Regions from separate parts of the Homo sapiens genome. Here region 2 is linked to region 1. Evidence: promoter capture Hi-C in 16 types of primary human blood cells and fetal thymus (Javierre and others, 2016). All regions are on one chromosome and are shown on one strand. Each heading gives the region's core, a stretch centred on a gene start or on the middle of the fragment in contact. The rest is flanking DNA. Distances are from core to core; before and after follow the strand shown. Region 1 holds the start of MAML3 (mastermind like transcriptional coactivator 3). Region 2 overlaps ELF2 (E74 like ETS transcription factor 2).

Evidence for each region. Contacts are between HindIII fragments. The CHiCAGO score rates a contact against its expected background, and 5 or more counts as called.
Region 2: a contact is called between a fragment that was not itself captured here and the fragment with the promoter of MAML3 in region 1, in 1 of 17 cell types (fetal thymus). The highest score is 8.2, in fetal thymus.

The regions. Positions count from the first base shown.
Region 1 is chr4:140,152,919-140,157,594 of GRCh38, reverse strand. MAML3 (mastermind like transcriptional coactivator 3) reads left to right here and starts at 3,411. Exons shown (of 5, transcript NM_018717.5): 1 at 3,411-4,676. The coding sequence starts at 4,268. The HindIII fragment of the contact is 806 bases long and covers 2,955-3,760 here.
Region 2 is chr4:139,077,106-139,082,482 of GRCh38, reverse strand. The region is part of intron 4 of ELF2 (E74 like ETS transcription factor 2); the gene reads left to right. Among named protein-coding and RNA genes, the nearest start is that of NOCT, 64 kb to the right of the region's middle. The HindIII fragment of the contact is 4,123 bases long and covers 1,244-5,366 here.

The DNA of each region.
Region 1 (4,676 bases), core at 2,162-4,661:
ACTTGGTGTAAAGGAAATGGAACCTGGTTGAACTCCTCAGAACTGCCAACTTTGGCTCAGAGCCAGGACAACAGGATAACCTGGTGTAGCTACTTATTCATCAAGCCCTTCTTTCCTTGGCATCCAGAGAGATATCATCACAGTTGGGGATGCAGTCATAGTAATTTCTTTCTCATCACTGCTATGGCATCTCAATTATTATTATTATTATTTTTTGTCATTCAAGAACAATAGCATTGATGCTGTGTCTACCGCTTTCATCCTGAAGTTTTGCCTTGTAGCAGGCTCACAGAAAAGACAAAGATGGTCATGCTGTCAGTGTTGTGCTGTGAGAAGGGACTAAAATTGCTTCTCCAGAACTTGGATTTCTCTATGACTTTCAAGGAGTTCTTTAGGAAGGTGACCAACAAAGCTGGAAACCTTGCAGGACCATATCATGGGATCTGGAAGTAGCCAGCATAAAGGTCTCTGTTTCTTCTAAGGTCACTGGAGTAGATCAACATCTCTAATTCAGGGTGACTGGCATATGTTGCTCAAGATGCAAGCCTTGCTTGCTTCTTGCTTCTTTCTTCTAATCTTCCTGCACAATGAGAATGGGGTTTCTGACCTCTGGTACGTCACAGCAGAGTCCTGCACAGGTCGGTTTCTCAAAGATTCTTCCCCTCTGGCCATCACACAGTTTCACAGTTCTTCCTTTCCCCACATCTGGGGCATGGAGCTTGTGGCTGCCACTCCCATTTTGGAGAGATGAAAGACGGGTGCCTGTGTGTGCGCTTGTTTGTGTGTACACATGTAACAGTTTTTCTTTTGGGTATAGCCCATTCATGCACTAAAATCAGGCAGCAAAGTATACTGTGGTTGTGCAAGAAGAGCTTCATTTGTCATTGGGGAACTCTGTGGTAAAACCACAAAGTGTGCTGTCCCACCTGCTGGTTCCCCAAAGGGAAGGATGCAAATTCTTGTGTCTTTTTGGTTTCCCTTCATGGTAGGAGAGGTAAACAGCTTGAAGGGAATACATGGTGCTGCTATTGTTGTCATTTTTTCCCCAGAATGAGAAACTCTCAATGAATAATTAAATTCTGAGTCACAGGAAAAAGCTAAAATGAGAACCCAAGTCTCAAAAACTAAAGACCCAGTGCTTAAGACCCTCAAATTTGTTGCCTCTGTAAATCAAACTGCAGTCTTTTGTGGGTGATGGAGGCAAGTGAAGGAGGAGGGATAACAATTAAACTACAGTGTGGCCAGGCGCAGTGGCTCACACCTGTAATCCCAGCACTTTGGGAGGCCAAGGCAGGTGGATCATCTGAGGTCAGTAGTTTCAGACCAGCCTGGCCAACATGGTGAAACCCCGTCTCTACTAAAAATACAAAAATTAGCCAGGTGTGGTGGCGTGCACCTGTAATCCCAGCTACCCAGGAGGCTCAGCCAGGAGAATCACTGGAACCCGGGAGGCAGAGGTTGCAGTGAGCCAAGATGGCGCCACTGCACTCCAGCCTAGGCAACAGAGCAAGACTCTGTCTCAAAAAAAAAAAAAAAAAAAAGAATTAAACTACGGTGAAGAGAGAGCAAAGCGAATGCAGAGTCATAGCTTCCCCTCTGTGGCGAAGCCATGTGTTTCCTGAGTTAATAGAGATATTATTTAGTGAATATGTGAAAAAGATAAAGGCCACTTTGCTACCTCTTTTTCTAATTTCTTAAAATTCTCTACATATTTTCAGAATCTGAACGGGCTCTTTTGCTACAGACGTAGTCCAGTTAAATTTTCTGACTGAGACTTGAAGAAGGGCAGTTTGATACAGAAATTTGTATATTAACTAAATAGCCTTCAGAAAAAGTGTGGCAACTTCAATGAAATATACACTCTCTTAAGTTGGTTTTACTGCTTAGAAGTAGCCTCACACCGTATTAAATATTTTGCTGCCCATTTTGCCATATATCCAGTGAATATTAAAAATATCGTTCACTATATAGAACTGATTAATTGAAGAAAAATATAGCTTCTTATCGCTGACATTATGAGGTTAGAAATAGCATCCTGTGCTAATCTGCAATGCCAAGAAATGAAGATGGTTTAAATCAGATCTCATGACTAATGCATAAGATCCAAAGTTCTTTTATTCCTGGCTATTTTAGAAAACTGGGGTGTATTTTTACCCTAAAAACTAATTCTTAAGATTTATTGAAATAATACAAAATGACTTATAATTAACATCTCACAATCAAGATTTATAGTTTACTGATTATTAGAGAAATAATAATTTCTCCATCTTAATTTTTAAAAATATGTATATGCAATGGTTTAAGTCCATATTCAAGAATATTTGATCCTTAGTTGTTATTTTTGTTTTTAGATAATATCGGGAAAGATAATGTGCTTTAATAAAATGGAAAGTTTAGATTGATTTCTGCAGTTGCTAGTCCATTTTAATTGTACTTATTGTGAATTCATTGAAATGGAAAGAAATATATCCAGCAATAAAGTAGGCCTGTTATTTTTGCTTGTTTTTGTTTTGGTCATGACAAACTGTGAAATGCTGTGTTTTTTCTATAGTTCTAGTCTATGAAATCTGCAATCTTTCCACTTGATTTACGAAGGACCTTAATTACTGCTGTCATTAGCACCTAGTGTTCAAAACAGTCTGTTTAAATGTACTGTTAGTCTCACCTCCAAGTCCCTGCTTGCTTTATTTTTTTCCAAGGGTAAGTAAAACAATAATTGACTTAGTAACAACAATCATTATGTACAGTGAGTTAAATATTACACATTTTTGATGCCTATTTCTATTTATTTAGAATTTGGTATTTGTGTGTTCAGTCTGGCCTAGACTTGGAACAAGTGTCCGTAAGTAGCGCTGTTACTAGCGCAGACTTATTACCTGGGTTTTAAAAACAAGTCACTCATTTGCCTTTTTCTTTCCACATGGATAGGGATGACAGACAACTGCTGTAAAGCTTCAATGTTTCTGCCTGGTCATGCACAGTTCTGCAATATAATGCATAAATGTATAACAACAACTTGGGATCGCTTGATACTTTCCTTGGAATAAGGAAACCCTACCAGGCGCGTCCCCGCGCACGCGCGCGCGCATACACAGACACACACACTCACACACGCTCTCACGCACACACACAGGTCAAAAGTTGATTTATTTCTGAGATCCCCCCAGAATCTTTCTTCTCTCCGTCGCCGACGGCTCTGGGCTTCTCGGCGGGGCGGTAGTGTGGTTGGGGGCGTAGGAGGGGCGCCGGGCGCCGAGGCGACGGAGACGGGAGCCGGGTGCTGGTGCGTGCCGCGCCCGCTCCTGCCGGGTGAGAGTCCGGGCCGGGTTTTGCGCCGTGTCCGCGGGCCTGTCTCACGGCCTCCAGCCGCCGCCGCTGCCGTGTTTACTGAGCTCGCGCGTCCTGATATCACTCCGCTGGCATGGAGGAGGAGGAGGAGGTGGAGGAGCGAGAGGAGGAGGAGGAGGCGGCGGCGGCGGCGGCGGCGAGCAGTTGATCATTGTGATGGTGGCAGGAGCAGCGGCGGCAGCGGCAGCCCAGCCGAGCGTTAGGTGCTGCTCTCTGCGCGGCGTTTTGCAAAGGACTTCACCGATCTACTTTTGCAGTCGCCTCGGACTGTCCATGTGTTTACTTCCCCCAGCCCGAGGATTCGATATCTAGGTTCCTGTGAAATGCAACTGAGCAGCCAAAGTACTTTGAGAACACGGGGCGGCATAAACACCAAAACTTTTTTGTGGAAGGAAAATGCAATAAGCAAGCTTGCCGTTTTCCGATGCGGTGTGGAGTGAGTGTGTGTCGCGCGTGTCCGCACTGGAGGCATATGCTTGTGTGTGTACATGGGGTGTGTTTTTCGGTATGTAGGGAGAAAATGCTTGCCAACCACCGGAAATCTCCTGGAATTTATTAGAAAATAATGGATTATAAAAAGAAGGCAAGCAAGGAGCGGATCTCCCCTTGAGTTGCAACCCGATTTGCTGCTGGCTCAGTTTGTTGTGATTCTTTTTGTTGATAGGTGTCTGATGGTATTCCGATAACGTTCCCCCCTTTTCTTCCCCTTGAGCTTTTACAGTTTAAAAAAAGGAAACAAAAACCACCCCAAAATCTCCCCCCCCGTTTTTTTCGCCCCGTCGGGATCGCCGTTTCCATCCATGTGCTTGCGTCTCCCCCGCGTTCCACTTAAACTATTTTAATCCTTGGACCCAAGGAGGAGGCTGATAGGGGGGTGGATAAAAAAAGTTCTTCCAAAATAGTGTGCCCGGGGAGCAGGATGGGGGATTTCGCAGCCCCCGCTGCTGCCGCGAATGGCAGTAGTATTTGCATCAACAGTAGCCTGAACAGCAGCCTCGGCGGGGCCGGGATCGGTGTGAATAATACTCCCAATAGTACTCCCGCTGCTCCGAGTAGCAATCACCCGGCAGCCGGTGGATGCGGCGGCTCCGGGGGCCCCGGCGGCGGTTCGGCGGCCGTTCCCAAGCACAGCACCGTGGTGGAGCGGCTCCGCCAGCGCATCGAGGGCTGCCGTCGGCACCACGTCAACTGCGAGAACAGGTACCAGCAGGCTCAGGTGGAGCAGCTGGAGCTGGAGCGCCGGGACACCGTGAGCCTCTACCAGCGGACCCTGGAGCAGAGGGCCAAGAAATCGGGCGCCGGCACCGGCAAACAGCAGCACCCGAGCA
Region 2 (5,377 bases), core at 2,056-4,555, 1.1 Mb after region 1:
CAAAGGAAAATGCAGTTTACTGAGTAGTGATTAAAACACATCTGTTTGACAGTTGCTTTCTGGTCAGAACAAGAACTTAAGTTTAGTAAGAGAGCACAATGAGAACTTGATTCCTTTGTATATATTGTCCATTACTACAATATGAATTAAGGGATGGAATTTTTGGCTTTATATTATTGGTACTAACGATACGTGAAGTTGTTGGGTCAATGATATTTCTGTGAATATTGAATATGTACAGTTCAAGAGATGTTGTTTCCAGTGGCTGCGAACACACGGAAAGAACCTTAGAATGCCTTTGCATCAAAACTTTGAAAAATACTGTAAAGGTAGGAGGGCTTCACTTTGCCATTGGAAACTATTTTTTCGTAAGCTTTTGGAATTACCGGTGAAACTGAATATGGCCTGTAGGTATTCTCCTTGGAGTATATATGTGTGTATATAAAAGACTGTCTTTGGTTTGAAAAGACAAAAGTTTTGTCTTTTGATAAGGGGTTTTAAAAAGTGCTGTTTTCCAGCTCTACTGCATTTCTGTACTATATACGAATCTTAAAGTTTATGATAATAATGTTCTGTAAAGAATATGTTTTACATACAGTTATTTTCAAGTTATGTCACCAATTATGTTCATGTAATCTGAAGCTCCCTTACAAGCCTTATTTTAGAAGGAAACTTGAGAGAGGTTTGCTCTTTTACCCAAGGTTTATTCAGTGTGTTAAAAGTTAGGGAGGAAAGATGGCCCAGAAGATTAGGAATCATGATTCTAAATTTTTATTGCTGCCAATTTTCAATAGCATTGGTAGGATAATGTTTCTAAAGTTTGTATTTGTGTAATGGACAGAATACCTTTTTATCTCCTTGAGGGAGGTCATCAGGTGTGACAGAGAATTCTTCCTCACAAAGATTTTACAGTCTGGGGAGACAGGTGAAAATCTATATAATGTATAAATGTAAAAAATAGTTCCAGTGATTGCTATAATGGGTTGATGATTAGTGTAGAATGATATTTATACAACTTCTAGAGGAGATAAGCTTTAGGTTAATATTTTCAGCATAACATGTTTCTAAGCAAGTATATAACACTTAATATTATCACTGTCGCTACATGTTAAGGTACATGTTAAGCTCGAATATACTTTTGCTTTTCTTCCTTTTGAGGTGTTAAGTATCACATGTGCATTCCTTTAGCTATAAACATTTATGCTGCCAGAGGAGTTTGAGTAAAGGATGAAATAAATAAGCTTATTTATTAAAACTCACTGTCATTTTACAAAGTATGTTTGTAGTAAAGACTCGACGTACTTTAAAATTTCATGGACAATATGATGTATGAGAACGAGCCTTGACCCTGAAGAGTTGAGGATCTATATCTAGCTGTCACTAAACTAGCTAGTGACTTAACATCTTTAGGGCTTCATTTTTCTCTAAGAAGACAGGGTTGACTAGATGATTGCTAATGACTTTTAAAGCTCTAAAATAAGTGGCTTGGAAATACTTAATGGAAAGGTAGGGCTTCTCCTTGGGTTTTTTTTTTTTTTTCTAATATTACACCATGTGAATGAATATGTCTATAAGTTCGTTATGTAATTGGTAGGTTAACTTCTTTTATCCAGTCTTTGAAAATAAAAATGTGTGCCAAATTGGAACTTGAGGCTCTTTATATGTTTAAGTCTGTAATATAGTCTAATTAATAATTTAGGCTCATTTCTAGTGTATATAGCTTAATATAGGAAAAACAAATGTCTAGCATTGTTACTTTCCTAATATTTATGTTAAAGTATTGTGTATGAACAGTCTGGATTTTCTGGAAGATTTCTGCCTTATTCTCAAGTATACCTTTCTTGACTTTTTCCTTTATTTGTCTTTTCTTATTTTATTTTATTTTTACATTTGCGAAATAAGGTAATCAGAAGTTTTGGTCAACAATGCAGTTATTAAATGAAGGTGAAATTTTTCTGGAAATTTAGCCTAAATATTTTCACTGACAGAAAACAAATCTATTTTATTAAAGTTCATTATGAAATTGAAAATCTCATTTCTGATTTACTATAAATTGGAATATGTAGTCTCAATCTTGAAAAGATCAAATTGAAAAAAAATTAGCAGTATGAAAAGAAGTTAAAAGCAGTATGTGAATAGATACATTAAAATGAAACTCAAGGAATGACACTAGTTTTCTTTTTAAAAAGCTCATTTGAAAATGAATTTAAGAAATTACCCTTCACAATTCATTGCAGCATTGGTACTAAAATTCATGTAAAAACTGAGTTACATGGTCACATCAGTCAGTGTGTAAATAGCCAATCAGAATCATTCAACATAAAACTATTTTAGAAACAAATTTGGTTGGTGGAGAAGGGCAGGCAGCAGAATGTTCTTGATAACTATTTAAAATAATTCCTCATGTTTGATAATTGTTTAAAATGATTCCTTGTGTCATCTATAGCAAAATGTTCAAAAGGATGCAAAGAAATGCTTAAGAAGAGCTTTTTAAAAACCATTTATCTGTGAGTAGACAAATACTGTTTTACTTACAGAATCATAATTTTTATTTTTTTTACATTTATTTTATTTTTTGAGATGGAGTCTCCCTCTGTCGCCCAGCCTGGAGTGCAGTGGCACAATCTTGGCTCACTTCTGCCTCCCAGGTTCAAGTGATTCTCCCACTTCAGCCTCCCAAGTAGCTGGGATTACAGGCGTGAGCCACCACTCCTGGCTAATTTTTGTATTTTTAGTAGAAATGGGGTTTTACCATGTTGGCCAGGCTGGTCTTGAAATCCTGACCTCAGGTGATCCACCTGCCTTGGCCTCCCAAAGTGCTGAGATTATAGGTGTGAGCCACAGCTCCTAGGCTAGAATCATAATTTGTCATCTACACCCTGATGTTTATGTTTAGAAGCTAAAACTTATATAAGCATGGGGATAGAATTTGGTTGTTATTAATTACAGTTGATGAATTACAGCTGCGCTTCTCAAAAACCAAACTCTCTGACCCGGATTCTGGGAGTCCCAAGAGCCTTTCACAGGATCTGTAAAGACAAAACTGTTTTGAAAATAATACTGGGACATTATTTGCCTTGTCACTTTCAAAAGTGTACAGAGGAGTTAGGAGCTATGTATAGATGGGTTATTCCAATAGATTGAAAGAGGAAGGAGAATTCAGCTGCCTTCTATTGAATCAAGTATAATAAGATTTGCAAAAATGTAAAAAACAAAGCTACTTACTTTTTGTTTTTTATTTTAAGTTATTTTTGGCCAGGCATGGTGATTTATGCCTGTAATCCCAGCACTTTGGGAGGCCAAGGCAGGAGGATCTCTTGAGTCTGGGAGTTTGAGACCAGCCTGGACAACATAGTGAGACCCTCGTCTCTAAAAAAAAAAATCAAAAAATTAGCTGGGTGTGCTGATGCGTGCCTGTGGTCTCATCTACTTGAGACGCTGAGGTAGGAGGATCACACCCCAGGAGATCTAAGCTACAGTGAACCATGATCATGCCACTGCATTCCAACCTGAGCAACAAAGCGAGACCTTGTCTCAAAAAACAGTTATTTTTCATAAAAAATGTTATTTATGGTTGCAGTAATGGGTGTATTATTTTAAATGAATTAATAATTTTGAAGTTTTCTTTGTAATTTCAAATATGATAAATACAGATAAAATCTCGAGGTCTTCAGTATTTTGAGTGTAAAAGTGTCCTCAGATAAAAAAGGTCGGAGGATAGCTGAATTACAGTGTTGTTTAGGTCTGTACTGTATGGTAGCCACTAGCCGCATGTATCTGAGTACTTAAAATGTAGCTAAGAAACTCAATTTTTAATTTTAATTAATTTAAACTTAATTTCTGGCTGATCTCATCTTGCAGAGGGCAGTTCGCTCTCCCCCTCCGAGAGTGTAAAAAAAAAAAAAAAAGAATTGCCATTCTTTTTCCTTTTTATACTTTATAATGCAAGTATATTGATTAAAAGGTCAAGGGGGAAAAGGTGAAGATGGAGTATTCCAGACCTTTAATTACCTTTTCCCCCTTTTTATTGCCTTCATTTGTATTCTTCATTTACCTATTACTGGTATAGCTTTGGGGCATTAGAGGATAAGTAGTGGTAAATCGGGTGCTGCAGTTGACTGAAGACCTTGTACTATTAGTTTATAGTGTTGCTTATAGGAGAATACCACTATCACCTAATGAAGTGTTTTCTAATTTTTTTTCACTGCTCTCAAACTAAATTGCTACTAAATTTTATTTTTGACTTGAGAACATTTTTATGAACTAGATCCATTGCCAGCATTCTTTTATGCAAAGCTGAGAGGTATGCCTCTTGTCAGACTTAATTACCAAGTTTGGTATTTTGTAACAGCTGTTGAGTGAGTCTGGAATAGTCTTCAGTACCATACAAACACCGGTTGATTAGAAAGATAGAAATGGAACAAGAAGATATTTACCAATATTAAATGAAGGTACAAGCAAATATTATTTTTGGTACTGTAATAAAAAGTAAAACAGTTCTTGAAATTTATTTCAAGGGGGATTGACCAGCAATAGCCACTACCAGTGGTAACTAGAAAATGATACCTGTCAGACTACTTTTAGCTTCATTGTTTCTATTTTTAAAATGAGTTATTTATTTTTCCTTCTATAAATTTCATAGATGTAGAAAGATACCAGTAAGTCAAGTTTTAAGTAAGATAAGGAATTCTACTTTTCAGCTCTTGCTTGTAGCTTGCTTACTTTGATTGCACAACACTGTTAAATTCATGCTTATTCTTAAATGTGCAAAATTATAGTTTAAATTTTATTTGAATTATTGATCTGAACAAAATAGTATTTTTTTTTTAATTACAGACACAAGTAGGAGAAATATTTCTTAAATTTCTGTTAAAAGTTACTTGACTTATGTAAACAAAAATAAAAAGATAGTGCTCACTTTTACAAAATGTGTTAAGTTTTGGAAACTGGCATTAGTACATTATTGTAAATTGATCTGAGAACAGCCTCTTAGATTTTTGTATTTTGCATTATTTTAGTTAGTAAATAAAAATGATGAGATAAAATTAGTAAGCAGTAAAAAAGTAATCAGTGTTCCTCTTAACATGCTTGTAACTTACAAAGTAAGTTTATTTTACATTTTTATTTAGTTTTGAAATATCTTCCATTTAATGCTCTCTGAACTGTAGATTGAGTGTTCTAAAATCTGAAACTGAGCACTGATGTGACACTCGAAGTGCTCATTAAAGCATTTTGGATTTTTAGATTTGGGATGTTCCACTGGAAATATATAGTGCAGATATATATTTTTTTAAATTCGAAATCTGAAACACTTCTGGTCCTAAGCATTTTGGATAAGGCATGCCCAACCTATAGTAGTATAAGCTTCATGAGGCCA